3 separate regions of the Homo sapiens genome follow, and all the other regions are linked to region 1. Evidence: promoter capture Hi-C in 16 types of primary human blood cells and fetal thymus (Javierre and others, 2016). All regions are on one chromosome and are shown on one strand. The core of a region is centred on a gene start or on the middle of the fragment in contact, and the rest is flanking DNA. Distances in the headings are between cores, read along the strand shown. Region 1 holds the start of NWD2 (NACHT and WD repeat domain containing 2). Region 2 has its middle 4.2 kb from the start of MIR1255B1. Region 3 overlaps LOC105374399 (a long non-coding RNA gene).

What was found. Contacts are between HindIII fragments. The CHiCAGO score rates a contact against its expected background, and 5 or more counts as called.
Region 2: a fragment that was not itself captured here is called in contact with the fragment with the promoter of NWD2 in region 1 in 1 of 17 cell types (M0 macrophages); the score reaches 5.6 in M0 macrophages.
Region 3: a fragment that was not itself captured here is called in contact with the fragment with the promoter of NWD2 in region 1 in 1 of 17 cell types (endothelial precursors); the score reaches 5.4 in endothelial precursors.

Annotation. Positions count from the first base shown.
Region 1 is chr4:37,242,726-37,246,265 of GRCh38, forward strand. It overlaps NWD2 (NACHT and WD repeat domain containing 2), which reads left to right and starts at 2,018. Exons shown (of 7, transcript NM_001144990.2): 1 at 2,018-2,493. The coding sequence starts at 2,343. The HindIII fragment of the contact is 7,136 bases long and covers 1-3,540 here.
Region 2 is chr4:36,428,899-36,432,361 of GRCh38, forward strand. No RefSeq gene overlaps it. Among named protein-coding and RNA genes, the nearest start is that of MIR1255B1, 4.2 kb to the left of the region's middle. The HindIII fragment of the contact is 1,536 bases long and covers 998-2,533 here.
Region 3 is chr4:36,363,614-36,367,269 of GRCh38, forward strand. LOC105374399 (a long non-coding RNA gene) reads left to right here. Exons shown (of 3, transcript XR_925195.3): 3 at 2,209-2,801. Among named protein-coding and RNA genes, the nearest start is that of MIR1255B1, 61 kb to the right of the region's middle. The HindIII fragment of the contact is 1,261 bases long and covers 860-2,120 here.

The sequences.
Region 1 (3,540 bases), core at 768-3,267:
AGACACAAACACTAATCCTATTTCTGAGAAGAGAGAAACAAACAAAGAAGTAAGAGAAAAAAGAAAGGCAGGAAGGCAGGTCCCTGACAATCTGGCAACTTCTAATCACTCTTTTATAAACAATATTGAGATCAGGCATAAAGTGATCCTAGCTCTTTTCTCCAGTAATAGATACTGTATATTCATACACGATGATATGCAATAAATACCGCATATTCATGACCTTTCCACAGCTCTCAGTCCATACCTCTTGAGACAATAGAGGATCTTTCAGGGACCCCCTTCCTGCTGAGAACATTTCCACCCGAGAATGACTCTGGAGTGAAGAAATTGAATCAATTAAATAACTGGGTATGTTCAAGCCTTCTTTACGGGTTGCATCAAATTATCACAAAGTAAGAACTGCTGCTGTCTGCCCCCTGGTTCTCAGGAGTGGAGAGGCAGCCTTACAAACCTAGAGACCCAATTCTTCCAAAGAGGTTACCCCAGAACGTGTGTGTTGGGGCTGGGGTGGGGTAAAAAAATGAACAGCAGTGCATAGGACTTCACTGCCACCAGCAGGCCCCAGAGGAAGTGCAGGCCCAGAGGAGGCCGGGCTGCTTAGGTTAGGACCATCCAGGCAAGAAGAGAACACTTGCGTCTGAACTGCCTCACCCTGTGCCCGCCCACCCCTTCCCCAATCTCAGAGATTTGGAAAAACTGTTCTTCTTCCCTAAAAGACAGGTGTTCCTGCCCAGAAGCCCAGAATAAGTGATTTATTGACTAAACTGCAATTAAGGCTACAAACACTCCCTTCTCCCTGCGCCGTTGGCCCCCAACACAATTACACTTTATTTTGCGAGGTCTTCGTTCCTGTCCTGGCTTATGCAGTATTTCCATGGGTGCAGTGGAGTGGAAGGGAGACGGCGATTTTACATCTGGGTCCCTCTGCGTCTCATGTCACCTAGGACGTGGACTGGACCCCTGCGCCGTCCACCTTGAGCCCGGAACCCGAGGACGGCCCCGCGTCCTCTGTGGCCGCCCTGGATCAACTTCAGGTGGAGCTGACCTACGCGTTGCACTGACTTTGAAGAGCGGCTGAAGCGCACACAAGAAGCTGCTGCCCACAGCCAGCTCCGATTTCTCGCACCCCGGTCCCAATCCACGGCCACCTGCACTTTGCGTAACGTTGCGCTGGGGGGCGCTCCAGAGAACCCACACCCTCCCGCCCGGCCCAGGTGCGCACCCGGCCGCGCGGGGCTCCAGCAACCTGGCGGCCGACGGGCCCGGGAGCTGTCAGGCGAGCAGAACAGCCGGTGAGTGCGCCTTGATGGGAGCAGAAAGGCCCCTAGGAACCTTGGAGGCCTCGGAGGAACTACCCGCGGAGATCCGCTCCCAGAAAGGTTCCGGGACCACGCGGCGAGGAGCACGTGAACGGCGCAGCTTGGCTATAAAAACCCCGCTCAAGCGCGCGTGGGGAGCAACCGGAGCGGCAGGACGCTGCCACCTGCGCCAGGAGAGATAGGGATGAAGCGATCGTCCCTCCAGGACGCCAGAGACAATCTGGAGACTTGATGCTTTAAACTCTCCGGGTCTGGCTTGGGGTTGTGTGCGTCGAACTTTGAGGCTGGATTCCCTGCACTTGGGCAGAGACGCACAGACGCCCGAGCGTGTGGATTCCCGAAAATTCTCAGGGCTTGTGTGACCTTTAGGAGAGTTGGAGGGGGCGTAGTAGAAATCTCAGGCTAATTGATTTCTTGTCCTCCACCACGGAGGCAGACAGGAGCCCTCGGCTGTCCACAGAGGAGTCCAGGAGGCTCCTGCGCACCCCCGAGGCCCCCGCGCCCAAGCCCCGGCCGTCCTCTAAGCCGCAAGTTATTTCTGCGCCCGAGAGAGGCGGGCTCGGATAAAGTCGGGACGCCTTCTGGTACATAAAGTTTCATCTGCTCTCCTCGCTCGCACGGTCCCTGCCGCCTGGCGGCCCCCTCCTCCCACGGCGGGCGCGGGCGGGGAGATGGCCGCCGGCGCTTCCCGGCGCAAACGGGCGCTGCGCGCGTAGCCGCCGCCACGCTGACCTCCCGCTCCAGCTGGCTGCTGCTCGGAGCCCTAGCAGCGGGCGAAGGCGGAGGCCCAGAAGGGCAGGAGACCGCCGCGACAGGAGCCCGAGGGTCCGTATGGCTTCTCCTCGCCGGCGGGTGCTGTGCGCCACGGAGCTCGCCAAAGGCGCTTCGGGCTCGGAGCGGCTCTGAGCCGCGCCGCCTGCTGAGATCGACCGCCTGCTGAGCCGTTCCGTGGAGCTGCGGGCAGGAACCCGAGGAGCAGGAGGTGGCGGCGGCGGCAGTGGCTGTTCCTCCCAGAGGGCGATGTGGCCGGCCGGCGCGGGCACCAAGCTGCCCTGTCCCCGAGACTCTGCGCTCCGGCGGGCGGCTTTCTCTGGGAACCTCACGGCCCTGCCCTCTCACCTCGTGCCCGCCGGCCGCAGCGTCCGGGTCTTCATCAGCGCCAACCCTGAAGGTACGTCCCTCGCTCGGGTTTGCCCGTCCGTCCTTCTGTCCGTCAGCGCTGCGGGAGCTGGAGAGTGTGTGTCCGCCCCACAGCCCGGTGCGCCCTGCGCTCCCTTCCTCCAGCTAAAGCCGTGGCCGCCCTGAGCGCGTGGGAATTTAATTTGAATCACTTTTTTTCTCCCCTCGCTGGCCGGTTTTGCCTGCACACTTCTATTAGGACACCCATTCTCCACCCCGGGTTATTCCCCTGGGTCAATCCAAGAAACATCCAAGGCATTAGCCGGCCCTTCTGGAAGCTCCATTCTGCCGCCGCCGCCACCACCACCTCCTGTCCCCCGCCCTTTTTTTTTTTTTTAAAGCGGTTTCTTCTCCGAGATGACCGCAAACACAAACAGTAGCTCTCCTCCCCGAGGCGGGTTCCTGAGTGCGGGGCTACCTCCTTGGCCACTTTTTCCAGCTGAGGCGAGGTGAGTTCCTTGAGACTCTCCTCCTGCAGGTGCGATGGTGCCCTTTGCAGAGGCCAAGCAGACTTTTGTGAACCGGAGGTCGAGGGGGACACCCTCTGTGGGTCCCGGAACAGGCTTCGCGGTGGGGCGCGCAGGATGGGCTCATCTCAGTTGGGTCACAGGGCTTGGTCTTCTGTATCTAAAACTTGGCCTACTCAGTCATGTTCCTGCTTAAGGCACCTGGTAGGCACTCCATGAAAACTTGTTGATTTCTTGTTGCATTCACAACCACAGAGGTTGAACGCTGGGCGGTCAAATCCTGGCTCATCACTACCTTCCAGTCCTTAGTCCTCAACGTTAGATTTCATTCCCAGTAATTGGGGAGTTGGGGAAGGAAAGATGTATTTGACTGGGGCAGGATAAAACTGCAGGAATTGCTCTTTTCTAGGAAAAAAAATGTTTGGCTATGAGTCCATGGGAGACTGACAGAGGTGAAAGATTTGAGAATTAACGTTTTCTGCACTCTAACAAGCCTTGAGTCGAAAAGAGTCGAGGAGAAAAGTCCACATTCAAACGATCATTGGATATAATTCTCATTTGAAAACCCAAGG
Region 2 (3,463 bases), core at 516-3,015, 810 kb before region 1:
TCGAAAATGATGAGAATAAAGATACAACATACCAAAATCTCTGGGACACACCTAACGCAGTGTTAGGAGGGAAGCTTATAGCACTAAACACCCACATCAAAATGTTAGATCTCAAATGAACAACCTAACATCACAACTAGAAAAACTAGAGTAGCCAGAGCAGATCGACTTCAATCTATTGAAAGACAAGAAATAACCAATATCAGAACTGAACTGAAGGAAATTGAGATACAAAAACCATACAAAAGATCAACAAATCCAGGAGTTGGTTCTTTGAAAAAATTCATAAGGGAGATAGACTACTGGCTAGACTGATAAGGTAAAAAACAGAGAAGATCCAAATAAACACAATTAGAAATGATAAAGGAGATGTTACCACTGACTTCATAGAACTACAAAAAACCGCCAGAGACTACTATGAAAAGCTCTATCCAAACTACAAAACCTATAAAAAATAGGTAAATTTTTGGACACATACAACCTCCCAAGATTGAACCAGGAAAAAATTGAATCCCTGAACAGACCAATAACAAGTTCCAAAATTGAATCAGTAATAAAAAGCCTACCACCAATAACAAAAAAAGCCCAGGATTAGACACATTCGCAGTTGAATTCTACCAGATATAAGAAGAAGAGATTGTATCATTCCTACTGAAATTATTCCAAAAGTTTGAGAAGGAGGGACTTGTCCCTCCTAAGCTCATTCTAAGGTGCCAGCATCATCCTGATATAAAAATCTGGCAGACACACAAAAACAACAACAACAACAAAAACTTAAGGTAAATATCCTTGATGAACATAGCTACAAAAATCCTCCACAAAATACTAGTAAACCAAATCCAGCAGCACGTCAAAAAGCTAATCTACCACACTCTAGTAGGCATTATCCCTGGGATGCAAGGTTGAGGCACAACATACACAAATCAATAAGTGTGATTCATCACATAAACATAACTAAAGCCAAAAAACACACGAGCATCTCGACAGATGCAGAAAAAGCTTTTGATAAAATTTAACATTCCTTCATGTTAAAAACTAGGGAATGAACATACATCAAAATAATAAAAGCCACCAATGACAAACCCACACCTAATATCATACTGAACAGGCAAAATCTGCAAGAATTCCCCTTGAAACCAGGCACAAAACAAGGATGTCCTCTCTCACCACTCCTATTCAATATAGTATTAGAAGTCCTGGCCAGAGCAATCAGTCAAGAGAAAGAAATAAAAGGCATCCAAATAGGAAGAGAGGAAGTCAAGCTATCCCTGTTTGCAGACAGTAAGATCCTATATCTAGAAAACCCCATAGTCTCTGCCCAAACGCTCTGTGATCTAAGAAGCAACTTCAGCAGTTTCTGGATACAAAATCAGTGTATGCGAATTAGTAGAATTCCTATTCACAAACAACATCCAAGCTGAGGGACAAATCAGGAATGCAATCCCATTCACAACTGCCACAGAAAGAATAAGATACCTAGGAGTACAGCTAATCAGGAAGGCATTAATTCTCTACAATGAGAATTACAAAACACTGCTCAAAGAAATTAGAGATAATCACACAAATGGAAAAACATTCCATGATCATGGATAGGAAGAATAAATGTTGTTAACATGGCCATACTGCCCAAAGCAATTTACACATAAAATGCTATTCCTATCAAACTACCAATTATGTTTTTCACAGAACTAGAGAAACTATTTTCAAATTCAAATGGAACCAAATACAGCTTGAATAGCCAAGGCAATCCTGAGAAAAAAGAACAAAGCTGGAGGCAACCCATTACACAACTTCAAACCCTACTACAAAGCTACAGTAACGCAAACAGCATGATACTAGTACCAAAACAAACATATGCACCAATGGAACATAATAGAGTCCAGAAATAATGTTGCACACCTACAACCACCTGATCTTTGACAAAGCTGACAAAAACAAGCAAGGGGGGCTGGGCATGGTGGCTTACACATGTAATCCCAGCACTTTGGGAGGCAGAGGCAGGTGGATCACAAGATCAGGAGATCGAGACCATCCTGGCTAACAAGAAGAAACCCCATCTCTACTAAAAATATAAAAAATTAGCCGGGTGTGGTGATGCACGCCTGTGGTCCCAGCTACTCGGGAGGCTGAGGCAAGAGAATCGCTTGAACCTGGGAGGTGGAGGTTGCAGATATCGCACCAGTGCACTCCAGCCTGGGCGACAGAGTGAGACTCTGTCTCAGAATACAAACAAACAAACAAACAAAAAACAAGCAATGGAGAAATAAATAATTCCCTATTTAATAAGTCAATAAGTGGTGCTGGGATAAGTGGCTACCCATATGGAAGATTAATCCTGAACCCCTTCCTTACAAAAATCAATTCAAGATAGATTAAAGACTTAAATGTAAAATGTATAAATATAAAAACCTTGAAAGATAACCTAGGAAATATCATTCTGGACACAAGACTTGGTAAAGATTTCATGACAAAGACTCCAAAAGCAACTGAAACAACAACAACAACAACAAAATTGACAAATGGGATCTAATTAAGCTTAAGAGCTGTTTCACAGCAAAACAAACTATCAACAGAATAAACAGACAACCTATAGAATGGGGGAAATATTTGCAAATTGCAAATATTGCAATCTGACAAAGGTTCAATAACCAGAATTTATAAAGACACAAATTTACAAGCAAAACACAAACAACCCCATTAAATAGTGGGCAAAGGACTTGAACAGACTCTTTCCAAAAGAAGACATACATGTGGCCAACAAGCACATGAAAAAATGCTCAACATCATAGTCATTAGAGAAATGCAAATCAAAACCACCATGAGATGCTATCTCACACCAGTCAGAAAGGCTATACTAAAAAGTCAAAAAGTAACAGATGGTGTCAACCTTACAAAGAAAAGGGAACACTTATACACTGCTTGTGAGAATGTGAATTAGTTTAACCATTGTGGAAAGCAGTATGGCAATTCCTCGAAGAACTCGAAACAGAAATATCATTCTACCTAGCAATCCCATTATTGAGTATATACCCAGAGGAATATAAATTATTCCACCATAAAGATACATGCACGCATATGTTCCTTGCAGCACTATTCACAATAGCAAAGACAAAAGCTAGAGGCCTAGCTTTTGGCTTACCTCAAATTTGACACGTCCTTCTAGCTTTTGATTTGAAGTGAGAGACATGCAACTCTTTCTCACTTTCTCTGCCATCGTAGGATTATTAATTGGCCTAATTTTAATATTGTTGTGTCTCAGGAAATAGGGAAGCCTGAGAACAAAGAGATAGATTGGGAAATGGCTGGTTCATGGAGCAGTCAGAAAACACACAGCATGCATCAATTAAGTTTGCTGCAGGCATCTTTCATGGTGTCCCCCCAAAATTGCAATAGGAAAATCAAAGATCACTGATTACACATCTCTATGACAGATATAATAATAATAATAATAATAATAATAATA
Region 3 (3,656 bases), core at 240-2,739, 880 kb before region 1:
TAAATATCATTTAAATAATTATACCAGTAGTATGTGGAAATGGCTAAAAAACTGTAAAGATGGTTTAAGAATAAGTGAGATTTGGGAAACACCGAATTAAAACAGTTAAGTGACTATACTATACCATGCTATTTCCCAGCTTATCTCACAGACAAAATTGTGATCTCTCTGTCCTGGGTTTGTACTCATTCAATTGCTTGATGATTCTGTATGCTTCCTTAGCTCAACAACATAACTCTCCCTCAGACTGAACACTTCCTGAGGGAAAACCAAACGCCTATCTTTCTTTCTTTCTCTTGGGGTCCTGCTTGACAATATTCAAAATGGATATGGAGTAATTATACACAAAGTCAATTAGGATGAAGATTTCTTATTGTATAATAAGTATAATAAGTATAAATAACACTTCCTTATACATTTTAAAAAAAAACCTTATGTCACTCATTTCCCTCAAGTGTTGAGCCATCCAGATTACTATCTTTTCCTTTAGAGTCATTCTAACATTTTGATTACTGATAATCACAGAATTACCACAGGGATTTTTTCCATGATCACTTACATCACCTTATACTGAGATCAAGATAGGTGAATTTCTTGATATTTGCCAGCTGTCAGTAAGTCTCCTTAGAGCTGGGAGAGCAAACAGGTATCATTTTGCAGGCCAATTTCAATCCCTTGCTGACAGCTGCCTGGAAATCTGTCCTGAGGAATCTGAGGCTTTGAATGCTAAGATCAGCCTGTAGGAGAAGGAGGGAGAATGAAGATGGCATGACAGCCCATGTGTCACATACCTGGCAAACTCAATTCGAAGACTATTTGACACTAGCAAGTGTTATCACTCCCATGAAGGGCCTCCAAAAGCTTGAAAAATGTAATATGGAAATGTATACACTTCCATGTGCAAATGTAAACATTTTGACATGTGGTAGGTGGTGAGGTTGGCATGGGACCTTCCTGGCCTCTCTCAGTTCCAACCATAAGAAGGTTCATCAATTTTCCTATTTGTGAGGTTGCTCTTTTGGGTGGTTTTTCATATATTTTCAGCAAAAGCCTTTTTGAGACTAGCTGAAACTCAGTTTTTAGGTAAAAATTATGAGTAAATAATGATTACTATCATTTATAAGGGAAAAAGAAAATAAATTCAGATGAACATAGGGAAGTAAAAAGTTTCATTTTACAGCTTAGAATTTATTGGAAGCAGAGAGGCCAAAAGGCAATCCCTCAAATTTTAAAAAAAGGCTTCCTAGTTATCCTGATTTCTGGGAAATCTCTGAATCACTTTTGACTTATCATATATGCCAATATATGTCTCACCAACTGAGTTTATTCAAACTCAGACTGAGTGGGAAGAAAGTCAATCAATTACCTCCCCATCTCACCTTATGTGCCACCCTGATTATTCCTGGCTGAGAAAGATGGTACTGTGATTATCAACTAGTTACAACTAGTCAAAAGGTTTTCAGAATTTCTACTTATAAGGAGTGTTTCTAGAAGACTAATTAGTAGGTAACCCCTGCATTGCATCACTAATCAGCTATATTGAGAATTAGATAAATGTTTCATTAATTTTGCTTCTCTGGGGCCTGGGGCAAATCAGATTTCTCCTCCTCTGTCTTCATGCTGAGAGCGATTTGACTCTGATACATGCAGTTTCCTTCCTTCTGCCCATCTATGTCTTTATCCATTCATCACACTAATCAGCAAACATTTTATTGAGCATCTACTGTTATCAAGCATACAGAGATAAATAAGTCAGTTTTTGTTCTCAAGAAGATCATACTTGTGTGGGAGAATTATATGCTCCAAGTGTCAAGTGCTAGGACAGAGATAGGTACAAGGTGTGCTGTGGGTAAAAATGAAGGTAGGGTTGCTTTTTGCATCAAGTAGATCATGTACATGGAATGAATGTGAGTCAAGCACCATAAATCTACCAGGGAGAAAAGGTAGAGAAGGGCCTCTACAAAGCATGGGCATCAAATAAGAGCACAGCTCTCTATTTCAGTTTTCTGAAAATAGATCAGAAGTGCAATTAGTGTCTGCCAAGGTTTCAAGAAAAAAAAAATTTGAAGAGCAGAAAAACTAAATGTCAATGCTTTTATAAGAAATGTCATATCCGGATAAGCTTTTCATACAAATTGGGAGTTAAAGTACAGGGAACTTAAGGCTGACTCTAAAGGGCATTATGATTGAATGATTTCTATCCAATAGAAAGCACCTGGATCGATGCTGAGGCCAAGTAAATAAGAACAGGAGGATGCCTCTCCCTGAGCCCTGGCAGAAGCATTAGACTGATGGATTGTGGTCCTTGCTTCAGAGAAGGATGCCCACTCTTTTGTTAGTTGAAATATCTGCTTTGTTCATTAATCTGACAAGTGAACATAGGAGACTTGCTTGAAAACACATCCATCTCTTCCTGGACTCTGCAAAGATACTTTCCTTGGCAAGTGAAAAGTCAAAAGCCTACCTGCAGTGACATTTGCATCATGAGTGACAGTAACAGATGAAAATTTAAACCTTCCATGCACCATTTGGAAGCATCAGTGGGAAAGTCTCTATTCATTAGTTTGAAGCTGGGGGCTTCCATAGTACTCTGTTTGCCAGCCAAACTGGGAATGTAGTTATTTGGCTATATTAGGGCTGTCAACCTAAATAACAGAGAGAGGTTTCCTAAGAGAAAAGATGTTCATTTGGGAATAGAGTATTAGAATAGGGATATGCATGCTGTAGTACACTATGTGCATATCCAAGGAGGTAAAGGAAGACAAAAGTTTTTAAAAGAAATTAATGAGAATTAGATAATTGTTTTTAAATAATTATCTTTGGCTGCAAAAATCAATAACAAGGGTGAGTAATGCCAGTTCAAGGTTAGATGTGCAGTTACTGAACAGATACACTTGCAGAAGCATTTTCTTTGTGTAAGTTTTGGATGGACTTTGTGCAAGGTTGTGGTTTTGTGGAGTCTTTTTCATTATCAGGCATACAAATGTGAGAACCCTCTCTTCATGGCCTCCCTTAATTCTATTTTTCAGGGTTTTTGTTTTTGTTTTTGTATTTGGTTTTTTTTTTTTTTTAGACATAGACTCGCTCTGTTGCCTAGGCTGGAGTGCAGTGGTGTGATATCGGCTCACTGCAAGCTCTGCCTCCCGGGTTCACGCCATTCTCCTGCCTTAGCCTCCCTCCTGAGTAGCTGGGACTACAGGTGCCAGACACCACACCCGGCTAATTATTTTGTATTTTTAGTAGAGATGGGGTTTCACTGTGTTAGCCAGGAGGGTCTCGATCTCCTGACCTCGTGATCCTCCTGCCTCAGCCTCCCAAAGTGCTGGGATTATAGGCGTGAGCCACCGTGCCTGGCCCAGGGTTTTCTTAATATTATTGACACCATCTTGATTTTGCCAACTTTCACAGTTCCCCCTTTTGATCAAGATCTTTCTCCAAAAGCATCACTGATGAATAATCCTATAGATAGGTTTAGATGTGCCCTCATGTTGGGATGGATCTATCTCAGCTGCTGGTCTTGTCCCATATCACAGGGAGTGATTGATGATTAGGAATCAGTGTCAAAACCCTTTCAGTCACATTTGAGCGACAAAGGAAGTTTGAAGGAAGTGACTGGAGTCCATATTAAGTTCAATTTTGTCTGTTTCAGTGTCTTT